3 separate regions of the Homo sapiens genome follow, and all the other regions are linked to region 1. Evidence: promoter capture Hi-C in 16 types of primary human blood cells and fetal thymus (Javierre and others, 2016). All regions are on one chromosome and are shown on one strand. Each heading gives the region's core, a stretch centred on a gene start or on the middle of the fragment in contact. The rest is flanking DNA. Distances are from core to core; before and after follow the strand shown. Region 1 holds the start of MED22 (mediator complex subunit 22). Region 2 holds the start of LOC102723855 (a long non-coding RNA gene). Region 3 has its middle 10 kb from the start of GBGT1.

The links. Contacts are between HindIII fragments. The CHiCAGO score rates a contact against its expected background, and 5 or more counts as called.
Region 2: a contact is called between a fragment that was not itself captured here and the fragment with the promoter of MED22 in region 1, in 1 of 17 cell types (endothelial precursors). The highest score is 5.3, in endothelial precursors.
Region 3: a contact is called between a fragment that was not itself captured here and the fragment with the promoter of MED22 in region 1, in 1 of 17 cell types (erythroblasts). The highest score is 6.4, in erythroblasts.

What each region holds. Positions count from the first base shown.
Region 1 is chr9:133,346,230-133,349,783 of GRCh38, forward strand. MED22 (mediator complex subunit 22) reads right to left here and starts at 1,902. Exons shown (of 5, transcript NM_133640.5): 1 at 1,693-1,902; 2 at 311-471. The coding sequence starts at 433. RPL7A (ribosomal protein L7a) reads left to right here and starts at 1,989. Exons shown (of 8, transcript NM_000972.3): 1 at 1,989-2,017; 2 at 2,693-2,813; 3 at 3,322-3,471. The coding sequence starts at 2,015. It overlaps SNORD24 (small nucleolar RNA, C/D box 24), which reads left to right and starts at 3,167; the gene lies at 3,167-3,241. RefSeq lists enhancers at 1-480, 1,785-2,079, 1,941-2,410. The HindIII fragment of the contact is 16,795 bases long and covers 1-3,554 here.
Region 2 is chr9:133,491,141-133,494,618 of GRCh38, forward strand. LOC102723855 (a long non-coding RNA gene) reads left to right here and starts at 571. Exons shown (of 3, transcript XR_428608.4): 1 at 571-3,478. The HindIII fragment of the contact is 3,026 bases long and covers 633-3,478 here.
Region 3 is chr9:133,172,361-133,175,927 of GRCh38, forward strand. No RefSeq gene overlaps it. Among named protein-coding and RNA genes, the nearest start is that of GBGT1, 10 kb to the left of the region's middle. The HindIII fragment of the contact is 577 bases long and covers 1,628-2,204 here.

The sequences.
Region 1 (3,554 bases), core at 652-3,151:
TCTCCTGCTCATTGGCTGTGTGCCAGGCCCCGAGGTAACTGTTTTACACAGATAAACTCACCAGTCATCACAAGGACCCCACCATGCAGGAGAAACTGAGGCACTAAAAAGTGAAATCTCCATCCAAATCCATACTGTTAGTAAGGGCTGGACGTGCCATTATTTGGTTTGCTTATCTACTGACCAGCTCCCTGTGCACTGGGTGCTTCCTGCCTAGAACACTATTCACTCGCGCTGCTCAGCCCCTGGCCTCTCCTGTCTCCACCCCTTCTCAGACTCTGCTCCCCTTGGTGGGCCACCCCACCCCCACCTTGGCGGTCTTGATGATCTCGGTGAAGTTGTCCATGATGGACTTAATGTCGTCCTTCAGCCGCTTGTTGTAGGACTGCAGCAGCGTCTCCTTGCTCTGGGGCAGGGCTCTCTGCTGGGCCATGGCCGAGCCTCAAGCAGCGCAGCGGGGAGACCTGGGACCTAGAGTGCAGCACAGACCTCTGAGTGCAGGCAGAGTCTACCCCAGCCACCCTCTATGCCCCAACCTTAGCAGAACACGCAGATTTCTGGGGATTCCCTTTCTGCCAAATAAAGTCAATCACTGAAACACAGATGAACTCATTCCATCAGCAGACACCGCAGGGGGTGCCAGGACTGGCCCCGCCTTTGCCAGAGCAAGCTCATCCTGGAACTCCTGGCCAGCCCTCCAAGCCCTGTCCAGGGCTCCAGTCCAGACTTCACGTCCAGGCCCACAGCGTGTCCCAGGGAGCCCTGCAAACTCAACACCAGCTCCCCGTCCCCAGCCCTTGGCTTAACTTCTTAGCCCGCCGCCACCTTCGCCACGCCCTCCCATCCGAAGAGTCCTTCCAATTCGACCCCTCTGCACCGCCTACATCCACGCTTTCCTTCCACTCCCACTCAGGCTGCCCCGCTCCAGACCTCATCCCTGCACTGCGGGCCCCGCTCCCTCCAGTCTCTGCGCGGCAGGGAAGAGGTCCTAAAAAGTGGTCATTCCAACCGGGCGCGGTGGCTCACGCCTGTAATCCCAGCACTTTGGGAGGCCGAGGCAGGGATCACCTGAGGTCAGGAGTTTGAGACTAGCCTGACCAACATGGTGAAACCCCAACTCTACTAAAAATACAAAAATTAGCCGGGCGTGATGGCAGGCGCCTGTAATCCCAGCTACTCGGGAGGCTGAGGCAGGAGAATCGCTTGAACCCGGGAAGCACAGGTCGCAGTGAGCCGAGATCGCGCCACTGCACTCCAGCCTGGGCGACAGGGGGAGACTACGTCTCCAAAAGAAAAAAAAAAGGGGGGTAATTCCACTCCCTCGCTTAACATCCCTCATGGTTCCCCGGTGCGCCGGGACAAGGGGCTCAAGTTCCGCGCCGCGCCTCTCGGCCTCTGCCCTCCAGCCGCACTGGACGGCCTCGGCGCTGGAGTTGCCTGGCCCTGGGGCCGGGCCTTTGCGCGCGGTGCTCAGGGAGGGCCCGGGGCCCCCTAGGTTCGGAGTCTGGCGCACGACCGAGCGGACTCCTGGACGCACTCGCATTGTTTGTGCCCATTTTTGGCGGGGTGTGGGAAATAAGTCACACGCAGGAAAGGGGATCTCCGACCCCAGCGCCTACGCACCCACCCACCCCCACTCCCGCCCACACACCCACCCCCCCTCCATCCCCACCCCCCACCACACCCTCATACCCGCCCCAGCGCCCGCACACCAGACGCCGCGTCCGCCGGGTCGGCCTAGGGCGGGGTGGTCAAGTGCCTCTGCGACCCGCACTTTCCCGCGTCTCTCCCACGGCCTGGCCCTCCCGCCGCAGTCTCTCTTCCCCGCCGCGCCGCGGTCCGAAAACCTAGTCAGCCGCCGCAGCCTCTCGGCCCCGCCTCGATTTTTAGCTTTATAGGAATGCTGTTGCTTTAAATCCGAAATCCCGTGCCGGTATCAACTCTCGCGATCTCCGAGGCCGCATACATATTACCCACAATTCCCTTTCCTTTCTCTCTCCTCCCGCCGCCCAAGATGGTGAGTGAGCTGTAGTTCCGTGGCACTATAGCCAGGTTCCGGCTGTATCCGCTGCCATCCTCCTCCAGGCGCGGCCTCGGAGGGCCTCCTGCTCCTCCTGGCGCTAGGAGAGCCCCACTCGGTGTGGCACGGAGACACCGAGGTGGATTAGAGCCCCACTTGGTGTGGCACGGAGACATTGAGATGGACTAGAGCCCCGGGCGGCCGAGAGCGGAATGCGTTGTTCCCGGTGTCGCAGGGCTGGGTGTCGCAGGCCTGGAGCACCGCAGTGCGGGGCTCGGAGCCCTAGCGTCTCTCGGGCTTGCTGGGGGCCGCTCCAGAGGCCTTGTGAGCGACGAGTTCTGAGCCCGCCCCTGTTGCTTCTAGAGCCTGTGGGGCCGCGACTCAGAGGAGTCATGAGTCCGGGGTGTCTCCTGGGTGGGCGACGCGAAGAGAGCGTGGTCTCGGGCTTAGCCTTGCTCTGGCCACTCGGGGTTCCCGGGGCTGCATGCTTGTGCGGCTGAATGTGAGATGCTCCTGTCGAGGGGTGGTGCTGGGGGGTTGCAGAAAGCTGCTCGCCAGCTTAGTTCAGGCAGGTGCTGTCAGCGTCCCTTGTTTTGGAGGAGCCAGCCTGAGCCCTACCCCCGACGAAGCGAGTGGAGGCGGCGGTTTAACTGACGTTTTCTTTCTGCCCAGCCGAAAGGAAAGAAGGCCAAGGGAAAGAAGGTGGCTCCGGCCCCAGCTGTCGTGAAGAAGCAGGAGGCTAAGAAAGTGGTGAATCCCCTGTTTGAGAAAAGGCCTAAGAATTTTGGCATTGGTAAGTAACAAACGGCAGAATGAAAACGGTCTATGTTTTTCTCAAGGGAAGGTGGTAATTGGGTTGTGTTGTATCTTGTAGGTTTTAGTGGGTGTAAAGTGGTCGCAGTCCTTAATTTGTGTCTCTTAGAGACGGGGGCAATGATACATGCTTCTTGCTTTCATTGGGAGTTGCTGAGCGAGCATTCAGCTCAATATGGTAGTGGCCTTGAATTCAGCTTAGCCATCTGGAAACAAGTACAGTAGCAGTGTCGCAGCGAGGTACTAGGACTGCAATTCTGCTGTACTTCGTGGCACCTTGGCTTCTTGTTAGATGAGGAAAAGCATCGTGCTCTTTGTTCTCAGGTGTTTGTGTGCAGATGATGTAAAAGAATATTTGCTATCTGAGAGATGGTGATGACATTTTAAACCACCAAGATCGCTGATGCACCAACACCCTTCCTAGTGGCCCCAGACATGAACTTGACATGGAATTTGAGCCTCACTCGGTGTCACCCTTTACTTCTCAGGACAGGACATCCAGCCCAAAAGAGACCTCACCCGCTTTGTGAAATGGCCCCGCTATATCAGGTTGCAGCGGCAGAGAGCCATCCTCTATAAGCGGCTGAAAGTGCCTCCTGCGATTAACCAGTTCACCCAGGCCCTGGACCGCCAAACAGGTGAGGTTCTGTGGCGTGGAAAGGAGTTTCTCAGGCAAGGATTCCTTATTTCATCCAGAACATGAGGGGGATGGTCTTAGGCT
Region 2 (3,478 bases), core at 896-3,395, 150 kb after region 1:
AGGAACTGGAGGAGGACTTGGAGGAGGAGGGAGGGAGGAGGACAGCCTGGGTGGGAAGTTGCACTTGGCCCAGCTCCCAGAGAGGTGGGTGGCTTTAGGTCATGCGTTCATCTGAGACCTAGTACAACCTAGGACCCTGGGGCCCTGTGCCGGTCACTGTGCCTCTTCCAGCCTCGGTATCCTCTGGAAGGTGAGAATGAAAAACACCCAATGACACTCAGACTGGACAGGAGCAGGTACGCAGACAGCAGATGGCCAGGTGCACAGAGGTGTCGCCTGACTTCCTCACCGGGACGGCATGGGGTGGGGCTCCTCCTGCAGGCGAAGCCCGCCCGGGACTGGGCTCTGGTGGGTTCTCTCTCTTTTCCTTCAACCAAAGACCTGGCTGGACACCCCCCATCTGACACTCCGGGGGCTTTCAAGGGGCTTCAGGCAACCCACATGCATTCTGGGCATCCCATTTAGGGGGATGAAGAAGGAATTGGATAAGGCAAGGGTGGGGCTGGCCCGTCTCCTCTGCTGGTGCATCAGCCCCTCCTAGGGACACCACTGTCCTTGACCCCTCTGCAGGCCAATCAGCCCTCCTTGGGAAGCCGCCGTCCTTGCCCGCTCTGCTCCTGGGGTCCCACCCAAGCTTCAATCCTCGCTGTGTGGTCTTCCCTCCGTGAGCCTTCATTTCCTCATCGGTAAAATGGGGGAGAGGAGAGCGCGGGGGTCAGCCCTGAGCCTGGCTGGTTGGCTACTTAATGGGCTTCTGGTACCTTGACCACCATCTTTGACAGCCTCAGTTTACAGATGAGGCCCTGAGGCCTGGAGGAAAGGATTAGGCTGCCTGGGATGTGGGTGAGAGGTCTGATTCTGACCCGGTGAAGTGAGCTCCTGTCCCCTCTGGGGTTCCCCAGCAGGCATTAAGGGAGGGGTCAGACGAGGTCCCCCTACCGTGGCCAGATGTGCAGCGACCTTGGGCTGTAACCTCAGGGGGTTCGCGCCCCCCACAGCCTGCTGGGGACTGACCAGGCCTGGGGGAGACTGGGGGAGCGAGGGGCTGGGAGGGAATACCACCTGGCCGGACGAGGCCCACACCGCCCTGCCAGCCTGGCATCTCTGCTCTCCCAGGCTCAGCCAACACCCGCTCTAGGACTCAGCCAACTATTTGTGGGCTGCTAAGTAGCATGACAGCTGCTTTTCTTGCTAAAGTATGACATTACATTTTTCCGGATGGCCGGGCACTTCCTGGCCTGAAGTGTGCTAAGTGACAGCCTCACTCTGTCCCGCTGCCCCCCGAGTCCCTGCCCGCCTCCCTGCTTTGTCCAGGCTGGCTTGCAGGGCCAGGCCGAGACCCGTCCTGGCCTGTGTTCAGACAGAGCCTAGTACGGGCCCCCAGGGCTGCAGGTGGCCCAGGAAACTTCCCCGGGGTTATTTTTGGCCTCTGTGCTGGCCCATGGACTCCCTGCCAAAAGCAATTACTGAATTTTCATCTTGTTTTGCTGATGGTTTAGACTATGTCAAAAATGTTCCACTGGAAGGCCTGAGGGCACCTCGGGCTGGGGGATGTGGGGCTCGGGAGCCCAGCTGTGGCCGGGTCCCCGGAATAGATCTCTGGGGTTGCTGGCGAGAAGAAGGAGGACAGGGGAGCCGGGGCCTGTTTGTTTGTAGCTGCCACTGGGTGCTTCCCACACGCACAGCGTGCTCGGCTGGTGGTCATGCTCCCTGCGCCCTCTGCCAGCTGTGCGTGTCCTTCTCTCCCACTTTACAGAAGAAGAAACAGGTTCAGGGAAAGGGCCGAGGGCATGCCCAGGCTGCACTCTGTTCTGTGGGCTGCCGCACTTCCAGCGCAGAAGGATTTCCCTGGCTCAGGGGTGGCAGGGACTGGGGGCTGGGGAGGCCACGGGGAACAAGGCAGGGTCTGCCCAGGCCCTCTTCTCACTGCCCGGGGCGAGGGGTGTCCGAACCAATCAGATCTTTCCTAAGTTAAATGTCTGTGTTGCGGGCTTCGGCTACTCTGTTCATCCTCCTGGGAATTGCCCAAATGGCAGCCAGGTGGATGCAGGAGAAGGTTGGAGGGAAGGCTGGAAATCAGAGGGGGCCGCCCTCAGGCTTCTGTCCATCTGCAGGGGCCCCACTGGCAAGCAGCACCTCTCCAGAACTCTGTGTCCCTTCCTCTCCCCTCCGCAGCAGCCCTGGGAGGCAGATGCTGCCATGAAACCACGGTGCCCTCAAGAAACCTGGCCATGAGGGGGCTTCCTGCCTGCCCACGGCCCTGCAGGTCATGGTAAGGGGTGGTCCTGGAGTTTGTGCCCTGGCACTTCCATTCCAGAGTCACTGCCAGGACCTTAAGCCTGGAGCTCCCCAGGCTGCATGGCAGTGGCTTGCTATGCAGGCCATGGCTGGGGTGAAGGGTGCCTGGGGCGAGGGGACATGTCACTTGGGGCCCTGGGTTGCCTGGCCTGCTGGGGGCCCCCTTGTTGCTCAGCTGCTGTCCTGGGGTCACGGCTCTCGGCCACTCTGCTCACTTGCAGTTCCTGGGAGCCTGTGGACATCGTGTTCTCGAGCCTGAAGGACCAGCAGGGCCCTGGGTGAACGGGGCGGTCCAGGGCCAGGGCCTGTGCTCACACTCCTGCGTGCATTCCCACGCTTCAGCAAAGCAATGCCGCCTCCTATCTGACAGGCTCAGGGTGGCCCTTCGTGGGTATTGTCACCACATTCGCTTGTGCATCAGACGCTTTTTGAGGAAGCTCAGGCCCAGCTTCATACCAGGCACTGGGATGGGGGTCAGCCCTGCCTTGAGGGCTGACCAGTTCCAGAGGGGAGACACACTGAAAACCATCACACCCTCGGCAGGCTGGGGCAGGGCAGAGGGGCACAGGCACCAAGACACAGGAGAGCCAGGTCAGGGCAGAGGGGCACAGGTCCCCGGACACAGGAGAGCCGGGGCAGGGCAGAGGGGCACAGGACTCGGGACATAGGAGAGCCGGGGCAGGGCAGAGGGGCACAGGCCCCCAGACACAGGAGAGCCGGGGCAGGTCAGAGGGGCACAGGACCCGGGACATGGGAGAGCGGGGACAGGCTGCTTCCTGGAGGAGGTGATGCCTGAGCTCAGTGAAAAAACACATGTGTGGGGCCAGCCAGGGGATCGGGTTATGCAGGGCGAGGCTGCCCCAGGTACTTGGGAGGGAGGTGGCCCTGGGTGGGTGTTGGGGCCGTTGGCGGCAGGTGCATCTGCCCTGGTGTCTGCCAAGGCAGAGCCCAGACTGGACGGCTCAGCGCTGGCCTGGGTGTGGGCGACGCTTGCAGGGGCCGTGTGGGTGTCTGCGTGTGAGTGCCCATTGTGAGTCTCGTGTACCTGTGTTCACATGGCTAGGGTCCGGCTTCCAGCTGGTCCTGTCGCCCTGGGATGCCACACGTATTGTAATTACATCTGGGATTTCAGGGGGAGGAGGAGATGGGGTGCCTGCATGCCTCCTAAAATGTTTGAAGG
Region 3 (3,567 bases), core at 666-3,165, 170 kb before region 1:
CAAAAAAGATAATGTGACAGACGGTTTCAAAGAGAACAATTTAAGCACTAGAAGATTTACGAACCCTTAGGAAAATTAATGAGGCCCTAGAAGATTTCTGCTGATACGCTATAATTTTGTCGTAAAAATTGTGTCACACGTACCTAATCTACTGTGGACTTATTTATTCATTGTTGTTTCTAAAACTCAGTGTATACTTGCTATTATAGCTTCCTTTTCTGGGGGAGGGGGGTTGGGACAGAGTTTTTCTCTGTCACCCAGGCTGGAGTGCAGTGGCATGATCTCAGCTCACTGCAACCTCTGCCTGTCAGGTTCAAGCGATTCTCAGCCTCAGTCTCCCCAGTAGCTGGGATTACAGGTGCCCACCACCACGCCCAGCTAATTTTTGTATTTTCAGTAGGGACGGAGTTTCTCCATATTGGCCAGGCTGGTCTCAAACTCCTGACCTCAGGTCATCCGCCCGCCACAGCCTCCCAAAGTGCTGCGATTACATGCGTGAGCCACTGCACTGGGCCACATTTTGTTAAATATACATTTGGCTGGACATGGTGGCTCACACTTGTAATCCCAGCACTTTGGGAGGCCGAAGTGAGCAGATTCCTTGAAGCCAGGAGTTCAAGACCAGCCTGGGCAACATGGAGAAACCCCGTTTCTACAAAAAATACAAAAATACAAAAATTAACTGGGTGTGGTGGTGTGTGCCTGTAGTCCCAGCTACTTGGGAGTCTAAGGTGGGAGGATTGCTTGAGCCAGGGAGGGAGAGAATGCAGTGAGATTGCACCATTGCACTTCAGCCTGGACAACAGAGTGAGACCCTGTCTTAAAGCAAACAAGCAAACAAAAAAGGCTACATTTATTTTTCATATTTTTATTTCATTTTTCAAGATCAAGTGCCAAGTAGGCCTTTTCTCCATTATTTCTTTCAAATACAGGACTCTCTTTTAATAAAATGGCCAATTCCCGGTGCTCATCATCCCTGCTAACCCCATGGACCGTCCCTGCACGTCACAGAGTGGGCGTGAGCTCCACGTGGGGAGTGACCTCATCGGATCACGCTCACTGAGGCACACAGCTGGGCACACAGCAGGACCAGAGAATATTTGCTGAATGAGTGAATGCATCAGGAAGCTATGGTGCTGGTGTTACCAGCTGTTAAAACTTCAGACAAGTTAAATTTGATGGAGTTTAATTGGAAAAAAATAAAAAAGAAATGATTCACAAATCGGGCAGCCTCCAGAATCACAGCAGATTCAGAGACTCTGGGGGTTCCTCGTGGTCAGAACAAATTTATAGACAAAAAAGTAAAGTGATGTACAGGAATTGGAAATGAAGTACAGAAACAGAGATTGGTTGCATCTCGGCGTTTGCCTTAGTTGAACACAGTTTAAACACTCAGCAGTCTATGAGTGGTTGAAGTATGGCCGCTGGGATTGGCCAACACTCAGCCATTGTTATAGGTGCATACTACTAAGTTGGGTTTTCCATCTTGTCTGCCTATTAAGCCAGCTTATGGTTCATCCACAAGGACTCAAATAGAGAGGTAGGGAGTCCCTTCTTAGGCCATATTTAGTTTGCTTTAACAATTCCCCTCTTTTGGTCAGCCTCTCAATTTAGAGAGATTGACCGAAGCTTTAGGCATTGATGCCACTCTCTGTCACCATCCTAAAGACTTATTTGGTCTCAGTGTGGAATTCACAAGTCTTCTTTAGTTTCAGTATGGAGTCTCACACATCTTCTTTGGTGTTAACATGGAATTCACAAGTTGCAGCTTTGTACCAGCTAAATGATTCTTTATGTTCTTTTTGACCTGGTTGGAATGAGACCATTCAACTCTCAATGGATGGCTGCATACAAAACATTTAAGACTTGAGAGGATACAGTGTATCAGGGTGACGATTATTATGACTATCAAGAGGATACTATCAAAATGCCAAGGCGTACTCCTTAATGAGAGTTCTTATGAAATGAACCGAACCAAATTAGCCAAGTGAAGGTTCAGACAATATAGGCAGTTCAACAGTGTTAGGGTCCAATTGGTCATTATCCTCGTTTAGAGTATGATAGCGATTAAGGACCATGGTTTGCTGTAAAGTGGCCTGACTTAAACAGTTACTCATTTTCATTGTTACATTGGTAATACAAGTCATAATAACTTGGAAACCTACTAGAAGAATTATAAGGATTAGAAGCCCTTGGAAAACCCAAGCTTGCCATCCACCCTTAGGATGCCTGCAAACCGTTAGTTGCCTATTGTAAACATGTCATGGGCTCCTTTCTCTTGAGAGATGTCTTTAATGTATTTGGTGGCAGTGTCTAAGGAAACAGCAGTATCAGCACCTTTTAAATTAAGCTTCCTGTAATAACAAAATCAGGTAAGAGATAAGTAGTACAACATTCAGTTTTGTTTAACACCAAACCTAGGCTTCCAGCTTGAGCAAAAAGATCTGAGGTTGCACGATGTTCCAGTAAGTGTTTTTGCTGAATTCACGTGTTGTCATCTATCTTTTTTTTTTTTGAGATGGAGTCTCACTCTGTTGCCCAGGCTGGAGTGCAATGGCATTATCTTGGCTCACTGCAACCACCGCCTCCTGGGTTCAAGCGATTCTACTGCCTCAGCCTCCCAAGTAGCTGGGATTACAGGCATGAGCCACCATGCCTGGCTAATTTTTGTATTTTTAGTAGAGATGGGGTTTCACCATGTTGGCCAGGCTGGTCTCAAACTTCTGACCTCAAGAGATCTGCCCGCCTTGGCCTCCCAAATGCCGGGATTACAGGCGTGAGCCACCATGCCCAGCCCTGTCATCTATCTTTCTGAGAGCAGCTTCTACCCATCTGAAACCCTGGGAGGTCTGATTGATTACAAAATCCAAGATTTTTCCCAATTTACAAATTAGCTTTAAATTCCATACAACTGCTATCTCACTACCACCAAGAGTGCACCCCCAGGAATCCCACTGGAATCTTTCCTCAGTAGAAACGAGCTTATCCTCAAATATTTCAAGGCTAGTGCTAATTTCAGTTATTGATCATTTTGGCCTCCAATCATAAGGGCCATCATGAGAATTTTCAGGGGAAGCTATTTGAAAGGCAGGAGCAAGCCAGGCCACATAACAAGAACCCAACCAATGAGGAGGCAGAACAGGATACGCAGACTCTTCACAGACCCAGTATAGACCCTTGGGGATTGGAAAAGAGGGCCACCTAGTTGCATTTGAGCAGAGATCAGTCAGGTTTGTTCGACCACAAATCTGCATACCTCCTGAACAACGTCCAGTGGGAAATTTACTTTTCTGTGGCCCCTTTATAGCATGTTGTAAGGGTATATAACCATATCTAGTAAAAAAGAGACCCTACTGGATTTAATCCAGTTACATTATACAAGCAATCACTTGTATCAACATAAGTAATTCCCAAATCTTGAGTGCGTGATGTCTGGAAGCACAATGTATCTTTTGCTGGCATCACTTGGATTTTTTTTTTTGAGACGAAGTTTCGCTCTTGTTGCCCAGGCTGGAGTGGAGTGTAATGGCACGATCTTGGCTCACTGCAACCTCTGCCTCCCAGGTT